Linked DNA regions of Homo sapiens: regions 1 and 2 are each linked to region 3. Evidence: promoter capture Hi-C in human tissues and cell types (Jung and others, 2019). All regions are on one chromosome and are shown on one strand. The core of a region is centred on a gene start or on the middle of the fragment in contact, and the rest is flanking DNA. Distances in the headings are between cores, read along the strand shown. Region 1 holds the start of TUBB4B (tubulin beta 4B class IVb). Region 2 overlaps RABL6 (RAB, member RAS oncogene family like 6). Region 3 holds the start of CLIC3 (chloride intracellular channel 3).

Region 1 (2,785 bases), core at 209-2,708, 240 kb after region 3:
CGGCTCATTCCCGTAAATCCGAGCACTTGGGGAGGCCGAGGCGGGCGGATCACTTGAGGTCAGGAGTTTCAGACCAGCTTGGCCAACATGGTGAAATCCCATTTCTACCAAAAATACAAAAATTAGCGGCGTGGTGGTGGGTGCCTGCAGTCCCACCTACTGGGGAGGCTGAGGCAGAAGAATCGCTTGAACCTGGGGGGGGGCGGGGAGCCAAGATCGCGCCACTGCACTCCAGCCCGGGAGACAGAGCGAGACTCTGTCTCAGAATAATAAATTAAGTAAAATAAAAATGCTGCAAAAATACAGCCCGTTTGTTTTTAAACAGGCGCAACCACATGTAATTCATTTTAAGTTTCTTTTCCCACCCAAGTAAAAATCAAGTCATAAATTAGGAAAAGCATTAACAGAAGTATGTTTCAGCCCCAGCGCGCTGACCTGTGGTTGGAATACCGGCCCTGGAGCCCGGAGGTCGGGGCCCACCCGCCGAGGGAGGTCTGGGCGCTGTCCTGGTCTCCACGGAGCTCGCGCACTCACGGGGCCGAGGCACCAAGGCGACCGGCGCAGAGCCAGCGCCGTCTCCACAACAGGGCAGGGCGCGCAGCTGCGGGGGAGGCCTCGCCCCTCCGCTCCCCTCCCCTGCCCTCCGCCCCGGCCCTCGGGGCGCGGCGTCCCCCACGTGCTCCCCTCACGCGACCGCGAGGGCAGTGGGCGTGCGGCACCCGGGAGCAGGAAACTCCGTGGCCTCTGCGGCTCTGTGGAGAGCTCCCCTCCACCGCCGCAGCCCCCGAGCCCGTGTATCTTCCTGCCTTTAAGGCATCGCAGCCTCCTCGGCCTGGAGGCCCCGGGCTCGCTCCGTGCGGACCCCGCTCCAGAACCCGCCCAGCGCGCAGATGCCGTGTCCCGGCGCAAGGCCAGAGAGGGCGCAACTCTGGACGTGGGGCCGCCACCGAGCCTGCCCTTCCCGGCTCCCGAAAGGCCCCGGGCTCAGAGCCAAGACTGCGCTTGCCCGAGGCCCGTCGGGCCCGCCCTCCCTCGGCGCCCCCAGCGCAGCTGCCCGCCGCCCGACCGGAAGCCCGCACTCGCGCCTGCGCCCCACCCCGTCCGCGCGCCGGCCGCGGCACTGCGGCGGTTACCAGGACGCTGAAGCAGCGCAGCCAATAGCGCCAGCCTGGCGGCGTGCTCCCGGCAGCCAGCCAATGAGACGGCAAATCAATCATTTGAAACACCCAATGGACGGAGCACTGCGGCGCCAGGAGGGGGATTGTGATAGGGAGATAGGAGGCTGCGGCTGACCAATAAAGACCAAACTGGCTTAAAAAGGCGGACCTTAGGCAGCTTGATTGACGGGGGCAAGGCCAATCAAACGAGGGAGCTTGCCAGCCTCGTTCTGGCAGCCCATTCCGAGACTAGCGGAGGCGGGCAGGGAGGGTATATAAGCGTTGGCGGAGCGTCGGTTGTAGCACTCTGCGCGCCCGCTCTTCTGCTGCTGTTTGTCTACTTCCTCCTGCTTCCCCGCCGCCGCCGCCGCCATCATGAGGGAAATCGTGCACTTGCAGGCCGGGCAGTGCGGCAACCAAATCGGCGCCAAGGTAAGTTGCCGGGGCGCTGGGGCCAGGCGGGCCTGCCGGGCGGTGTGGGCGGGCGGCCGGGGAAGATGGCGGCAGCAGCGGCCGGGCGGCGCCCCCGCATTGCGGCCGCCGGGCCCCCTCCGCGGGGAATTGGCCGAGCCGGGCGACCGAAGCCCCCAGGAACCCGGCGGCCAGGGCGCGCGGGGCGGGGGAGGGGCGGGGAGGGCCGGGCTGCCGCGCCCGTCCGGGGCGGGGCTGCCTCCCTGCGCACCGGCCGCGGTGACTCAGCCCCGGCCCGCCCGGGCCCGCCCGCGTCCCTTGTAGTTTTGGGAGGTGATCAGCGATGAGCACGGCATCGACCCCACGGGCACCTACCACGGGGACAGCGACCTGCAGCTGGAACGCATCAACGTGTACTACAATGAGGCCACCGGTGAGGCCCCGGCCCCTTCCCCGACCGCCCTCCGGGGACCCCGCGGCCCCTGCCTTGGCTGACGCCCTCCCGTCCCCGCAGGCGGCAAGTACGTGCCCCGCGCCGTGCTCGTGGATCTGGAGCCCGGCACCATGGACTCCGTGCGCTCGGGGCCCTTCGGGCAGATCTTCCGGCCGGACAACTTCGTTTTCGGTGAGCCGTGGCTGGGGACTGGGCGGCGGCTCAAAGGTCAAGGGGCTGCTCCAAGGGCACCGCCGTGGGAACTGCGCAGCCGGGGCCCCTGGACGCCCTCCTCTTCTCTGAGCCACTCAATCCCCTCTACTAAATCGGCTTTGGGAGCAAGGTCCAGCTGTCTGCCGAGGCGAGGAGCCGCCACACACGTAATCTCCCTGCAGGGAGCTGAGCTGGGGCAGTGGCTGTTCCTCTGTCCTTGGGAATTGGCAGTGGCCCCCCCGGGGAGGGGTTTGTTAAGCTGTCAGGTTTGGCCCCTGACTTAATTCGTAGCAGGGCAGGCTGCCGTCTTTTGGCTTTGAAGGGTCCGTTTGCTCTACCTCCAGGGTGAATTCTGTGGTCAGCTCACACCATGTCACTCGGCTTTTTTCGCATGGCGGTGACCAGTAGTGCTGTCTACCTGGCTGACAAATGATTAGCTGTGTTCTCTCACAGGTCAGAGTGGTGCTGGGAACAACTGGGCCAAGGGGCACTACACAGAAGGCGCGGAGCTGGTGGACTCGGTGCTGGATGTTGTGAGAAAGGAGGCTGAGAGCTGTGACTGCCTGCAGGG
Region 2 (2,985 bases), core at 398-2,897, 180 kb before region 3:
CTGAGATTGTGCCACTGCACTCCAGCCTGGGTGACAGAGTCAGACCCTGTCTCAAAAAAAAAAAAAAAAACAATTGCACCACCACACCCAGCTAATTTTGGTATTTTTTAGAGAGACAGGGTTTCACCACGTTGCCCAGCTGGGCTCAGACCCCTCTACTCAAGCAGTCCGAACCCCTTGGCCTCCCAAAGTGCTGGGATTACAGGCGTGAGCCACCGCGCCTGGCCAGATTATGTTTCTTATCAGACTTAAAGTCAGTGTTGATGTTAAATGCTGGTGAGCTTTTCCTGAATTCCAGAAGGGAGGAGGCCACAATGAGGCCTGTCTGACTCCCCTCTTCCCATAATGGCCTGAACCAGTCTTTCAGATGAAATTTGGATGGCCCTGGCCTAGAAGAGGAAGTCCATTCAGATGGTTGGCAGGCCTTGGGATTTTAATTTTGGTTTACACAATTTTGAAATTATTTGCATATAAAATTATTAGGAAAATTATTTGAAATTATTTGGAAGAAAGATTGTTGCCTGAGTTGGTCTGTCCCTTTCTACTGTGACTGGACACAAAATATCAGTTGTATTTGGTGCAGAATTTTTCTGTGGAGTTGCTCCTGAGTGAGCATTATTGTGCAGCTCTGATACTGGCCTGGCCCAGGAGCTCGGACAACCAGAGTCCTCTCTGAGTAGACACTGGTGCGAATTTAGAAATGGGACTTAGCAGGCCGGGCACGGTGGCTCACACCTGTAATCCCAGCACTTTGGGAGGCTGAGGTGGGCGGATTACATGAGGTCAGGAGTTCAAGACCAACCTGGCCAACATGATGAAACTCATCTCTACTGAAAATATGAAAATTAGCCAGGTGTGGTGGCGTATGCCTGTAATCCCAGCTACTCGGGAGGCTGAGGCAGGAGAATCGCTTGAACCCGGGAGGCAGAGGTTGCCGTGAGCCAAGATCACACCACTGCGCTCCAGCCTGGGCGACAGAGTGAGACTTCGTCTTAAAAAAAAAAGAAAAGAAAGAAAAGTTTATATGAATATCCAGTCAAAACAAACAAGGAAGGTATTACCCTTGAAATGTTGTCTATACGAATTTCCAAGGAGACCACAGGACTGTAGACTGTCTTGGAATGTCCTCAGAGAGCTCTGTCATTGATCAGGTAACGGAATAAAAACCCCAGCGTCCTTTCTTTCAAATGGGAGAGGGAAAGACAAAGGGACAGAAGCCGTTCAAACTTTGTCTTCTTTCCTTGTGGCTTGTGGTCACCTCTGCCTCCCCAGAAGCTGCCTCGCCCACCAAAGCCTTCCTGGCTTCTGCCACCACCTCATCCTCCAAAGCTTCCTCTACCTCCATCACAACCCCAAAGCCACCTTCGCCCTTAGGTTTGGCCCAGTCCAAGTTACCTTTGTTTCCCTCAATTTCACCATCTTCCGCGGCCTCCTTGGCGCTTTTGGCATCCTCCTCACTGTTGCCATCTACAGAGCCAAAGCCTTTGGGGCACCCGGTTTCCTGGTTGGTGACTACCCTTGCCCAACAAAGCTGTCGAATGACTAAAGCCTCTTCAGTGGTGTCCTCAGACAGGCCTTTGACAGACAGTTTTAGATGGCTGGCTCCTGGCATCAGGTGGTCCTTGCAACTCCAGCCTGATTGCCCTGCCCCCAGTTTCCCTTTTATTACAGGAATTTAAAGCTGCTTTATCATCTTCAAATGAAGCGAACTGTAAGTGCATGCACACCCTTTAGATTTGCCATTTTGGTTCTGGGGCACTTTGATAAAAGTTGCCTTGTCTCAGATTCTTTCTGAAGAGTTTCTTCTGTTGCACTGTAGGAGAGGTTGCTTAAACCAGAGTTTTTGATTCACCCCTCCAAGTGGTCTCTCTAGTCTTGATTTAGACCTTTCTCTCCATGATAGTGCAGGGAAATAGATCGGCCATCCATCTCTGTTCCCTGCGTTTCTTCAGAAGTTTTCTCTGCATTAGCTTCTGTCTTAACCTCAATATAAGCAGTCCCTTTACTCTTCCCATCCTTGCTGACTAATCCAATCTCCACAGCATCTTCAAACACTTTTTTGTTTTTTGAGCCAGAGTCTCGCTCTGTTGCCCAGGCTGGAGTGCAGTGGCCGTGATCTCAGCTCACTGCAAGCTCCACCTCCCAAGTTTGCGCCATTTTCCTGCCTCAGCCTCCCGAGTAGCTGGGACTACAGGCACCCGTCACCACACCCAGCTAATTTTTTGTATTTTTAGTAGAGACAGGGTTTCACCGTGTTAGCCAGGATGGTCTTGATCTCCTGACCTCGTGATCTGCCTGCCTTGGCCTCCCAAAGTGCTGGGATTACAGGTGTGAGCCACTGCGCCACTGCGCCCAGCCAAAACACTTGTAATTCATCCTGAGTGACTTTGTAAGGGAGATTTGTAGCCAAAAGTATTCTCACATCTTGCTCTTTCTTACTGTCTTTTCCTTTTGGTTTCTCTAGTTTAATTTCATTGCCAAAGTCTTTCAAACCAGCGAGTTCCAAGGCTCTTTCCAGGTCTTCAGCAGCTTGAAAATCCACATAGTCAGATTTCCTTGTCATACCCATTCTGACATCCACAACAGCAAGATCATTTTTAGCAAAAATATCATGGATACTAGTTTTTGTTTTTCTTTCTTTTTCGAGACAGGGTCTTGCTCTGTTACCCAGGCTGGAGTGCAATGGTGCTCACTGCAGCTTCCACCTCCCGGGTTCAAGTGATTCTCCTGCCTCAGCCTCCCCAGTAGCTGGGACTACAGGCACGCACCACTACGCCCGGCTAATTTTTGTATTTTTAGTAGAGACAGGGTTTCATTATGTTGGCCAGGCTGGTCTCAAACTCCTGACCTTGTGATCTGTCCACCTCAGCCTCCCAAAGTGCTGGGATTACAGGCGTGAGCCACCAGGCCTGGCCCATGGATACTAGTTTTTAACTCAGGAGCAGACTTGTTAAAGTTCAGGTTTCCAACAAAGATTGAAAGACG
Region 3 (2,983 bases), core at 412-2,911:
GCCCGCCCACCTTCCGTGCTCACGTCGACGATGTGCAGCTTGGGCAGGAGGCTGCAGTCGGCCAGCGTGAGCCTGTCGCCGTCCAGGAAGCGGCGGCGGGACTCGCGCAGCTGCGGCTCCCCCGCCAGCTCGTGCTCCAGGGGCGCGCGCAGGTAGCTGTCCAGCCTGGCGAGGGCGCGCAGCAGCTGCTGGTACAGGGCTAGGGGGCAGGCGGCGCGGTGAGGACCAGGCCCAGGGCGCCCTCCCGCCTGGGCACCCGACCCCCTGACCCCGCTTCACCTTCGTCCTGCGCGGGCACCGGGTTCTTGATGAACGCGGAGAACTTGTGGAAAACGTCGTTGCCGGCGGTGTTGGACTCCCTGTAACGAGGCGCCAGGCTGGGGAAGCTGCGGGATGAGGGGGTGGGACTCCATTAGACTGGGGGCAGCCCCGTCCCGGCCCCACAGTACCCCCACAGCGCCTTCCTGGGCTCTGTCTTGCGCGCGTCCTCCCTGGGCCCCCCTCTTTTCCCCTCCCACCCTGCCGGGGCTCTCACTCGGGCGGCCCCAGCGTCTCCTCCAGAAAGTCCTCGATCTGCAGCGTGTCTGTCTTGGCGTCGCTGTCATAGAGCAGGATGGGCAGCTGCGAGCCGGGGGCGAAGTCCTTCAGCACGTCCGGGGACCTGCGGGCAGCAGCGGGGTGGGAGGAGGCCGGCCCACCAGTGTGCGAGGCCAGGCGGGGGTCCACAGGATGGGGCCTCACCTGCGCGTGTCCACCGTGGTGAGGGTGAAAGGTACGCCCTTGAGGAGCAGGACCATGAAGAGCCGCTGGCAGGAGGGGCAGTGACCCACGCTCTCCCCGTCCTCACTCGCCTGGGTGGGTGGAGCGGGGGTGGGGGGTCAGGGCTGGAAGCAGACCCAGGCATCCTGCCGCCAGGCTGGGCGGGACCCGCCTCCCACTGCCAGTGGGATTGGAGGGACGCCAGGGCTCCAGCTTGGTCGGCGCGACTTCCAAGTGCCCAGTGAGGGCCCTTGACTTGGTCCCCAGAACGTGGGGAGGGGGGCAGAGCTGCTGGGAGCCTTGAGGCCTGGGGCAGGCTTGGCCCCTGGAATCTTGTCAGAGCCTGGACAGAGGCCAGGCCCCTGGGCTCAGTCCCCAAAAGCTGGTTGCAGGGGTGGGGTGGGCCTCACAAGCTGTTTTCTGAGTGATTCACACATGAGACTGGGCACTGTGGCCAACAGCACATCAGTCCCCCACCCCAGTCCCCGACCTGAGAGCTGATGGGGCTGCCTGGCCCAGCACCCCCCATCCTGGAACACCGACCGTAAGCTCCACTGTTGGCAGCCTGCTTGGTACCTCCCCACCAAGGAGCTCTCCTCCAGAAGACTGGGCTGGGCCCAGGAGCCAAGGCTGGGAGCAGGACCAGGGCCACTGACCCCTCTCTGGGTGACTCGCTGGGTCCCACTTTACTCAGCCTCTGTAGGGCTGCCTGAGTCCCCCTAGCCACCCACAGGAAGGGGCTCAGACATTACTGGGAGGCCCACCCCACAGCCTGCCACAGAAAGCAAAGCCCAGAAAAGCGCTTCCTCCCAGACACCCTCCCCGCAGCTGAGTCCGCCCTGCACCTTGACAAACAGCTGGAGCTTGGTCTCCGCCATGGTGGGAGCTGCCGCGGTCAGGCGCGGGTGGGGACCTGGGGAGCTCTTTAAGTCTCCCTGTGCGCCCCGCCCTCCCTGGCCGAGGGGCCCGCCCCGTGGAGCCACCTAGGCGGGCAGATGAAGCTGCCCAGCGCGCAGAACCAGCTGCCTGAGCAACGCCAGCCCGGCCCCGGGGTGTCTGAGCCTGAGGGTGTGACCTCAGGGTGGCGGAATGGTGTGGGGGGCTGCCCTGGACTTGAGTCTGGTGTGCACGGAGATCCGCCCACCCGGTACTGAGTGTGCTGGGAGCCAGCGTGGTGGGTGGAGACCAGGGGGCAGGGCATAGGGAGAGCCTACAGGCCAGAAGGGTGCAGGGGGTGTCACCTGGGAAGGGGGCGGCTCTGGGTCAGGACCACCTCCACCGTGAACCCAGCTCAGACCCTGCCCTATGGCTCTCCCTTCCGCAAATACCCCTTGTCAGGGCTCCCAGCCCAGAAAGCCAGTGGGTGTGGGTGAGCAGGAGAAATGGCCTGCCCAGCCTGGCTTCAGTTCCCCATCTGCAGCACCAGGGCATCGGGAGGGTGATAAGCCCACCTGGGGGAGCCGCCCCTTCCCAGCTACGGAGCAGTCAGGCAGGGCCCTCCCCGCTCAGGGCAGGGCTCAAATTCCAGACCTGCCCGCAACAGGGCGGGGAGGCCAGCCTGGCTTTGGTGTTTGGCCGGCAGTGCAGGTCTCCACCCCACCTCCCATCCCTCCCACTGGCGCTCAGCGCAGGTTTCTTACCCCCAACCCCTTAACCTTTAAAAAGAAGCAGCAGGAGAGGGGTTAGAAGCCACAGCCTGCGTGGCTGGAAGAAAGAGGCCAGGGGAGGGTGGTGGTCCACAGGTGTGAGCCTGCGCTGAGCCTCCTGGCGTGATTGGAACCCACAGTTCAGTCTGGCCCTTTGGGGTCGCCAACTGTGCCTTCCTCCCACCTGGCCCTGACGCTTTAGGGTGCAGCCCCAGGGAGGTACACCGAGGGGAGATTCCACCCAGAGACCTGGGGTGCCCACAGGATTGGCCTGGCCACACCTCCCCCAGGCGGTGTGGTGCCTCACCAGCCTGGACAGGGCAGCTGAGGTGGCACTGCTCTCCTGCTCACCTTCTCCCCAGGGCCTTGGTACGGGCCCCTCATCCGTCCCCGGTGGAACACACTCCAGTGCTGCCCCAGTCAGCCCAGCCTGATGCTTCTCTGGATACCACGCCAGTCGGGGCTCCTGGACACAGAGCCTTGGAAATACCATGTGGCTGCCCCATCCTTTGGTGTCCTGAACCTCAATTTCCCTCCATCCGGCCTCCACCTCGATTCCAAGCCCTAGTATTTCAGCT

Evidence for each region. The method cuts DNA at HindIII sites, captures the fragments that hold promoters and counts their contacts. A contact is called where the count stands out against the background at its distance.
Region 1: the fragment with the promoter of TUBB4B here is called in contact with the fragment with the promoter of CLIC3 in region 3 in 1 of the 25 tissues and cell types used here (heart right ventricle).
Region 2: a contact is called between a fragment that was not itself captured here and the fragment with the promoter of CLIC3 in region 3, in 2 of the 25 tissues and cell types used here (dorsolateral prefrontal cortex and spleen).

The regions. Positions count from the first base shown.
Region 1 is chr9:137,239,829-137,242,613 of GRCh38, forward strand. TUBB4B (tubulin beta 4B class IVb) reads left to right here and starts at 1,459. Exons shown (of 4, transcript NM_006088.6): 1 at 1,459-1,589; 2 at 1,893-2,001; 3 at 2,083-2,193; 4 at 2,668-2,785. The coding sequence starts at 1,533. RefSeq lists silencers at 484-1,303, 1,634-1,863. The HindIII fragment of the contact is 17,682 bases long and covers 14-2,785 here.
Region 2 is chr9:136,811,565-136,814,549 of GRCh38, forward strand. All of the region lies in intron 1 of RABL6 (RAB, member RAS oncogene family like 6), which reads left to right. It also overlaps the pseudogene NCLP1. Among named protein-coding and RNA genes, the nearest start is that of CCDC183-AS1, 4.2 kb to the left of the region's middle. The HindIII fragment of the contact is 4,462 bases long and covers 1-2,985 here.
Region 3 is chr9:136,994,907-136,997,889 of GRCh38, forward strand. CLIC3 (chloride intracellular channel 3) reads right to left here and starts at 1,662. Exons shown (of 6, transcript NM_004669.3): 1 at 1,605-1,662; 2 at 742-851; 3 at 536-661; 4 at 280-386; 5 at 24-199. The coding sequence starts at 1,637. The HindIII fragment of the contact is 25,713 bases long and covers 1-2,983 here.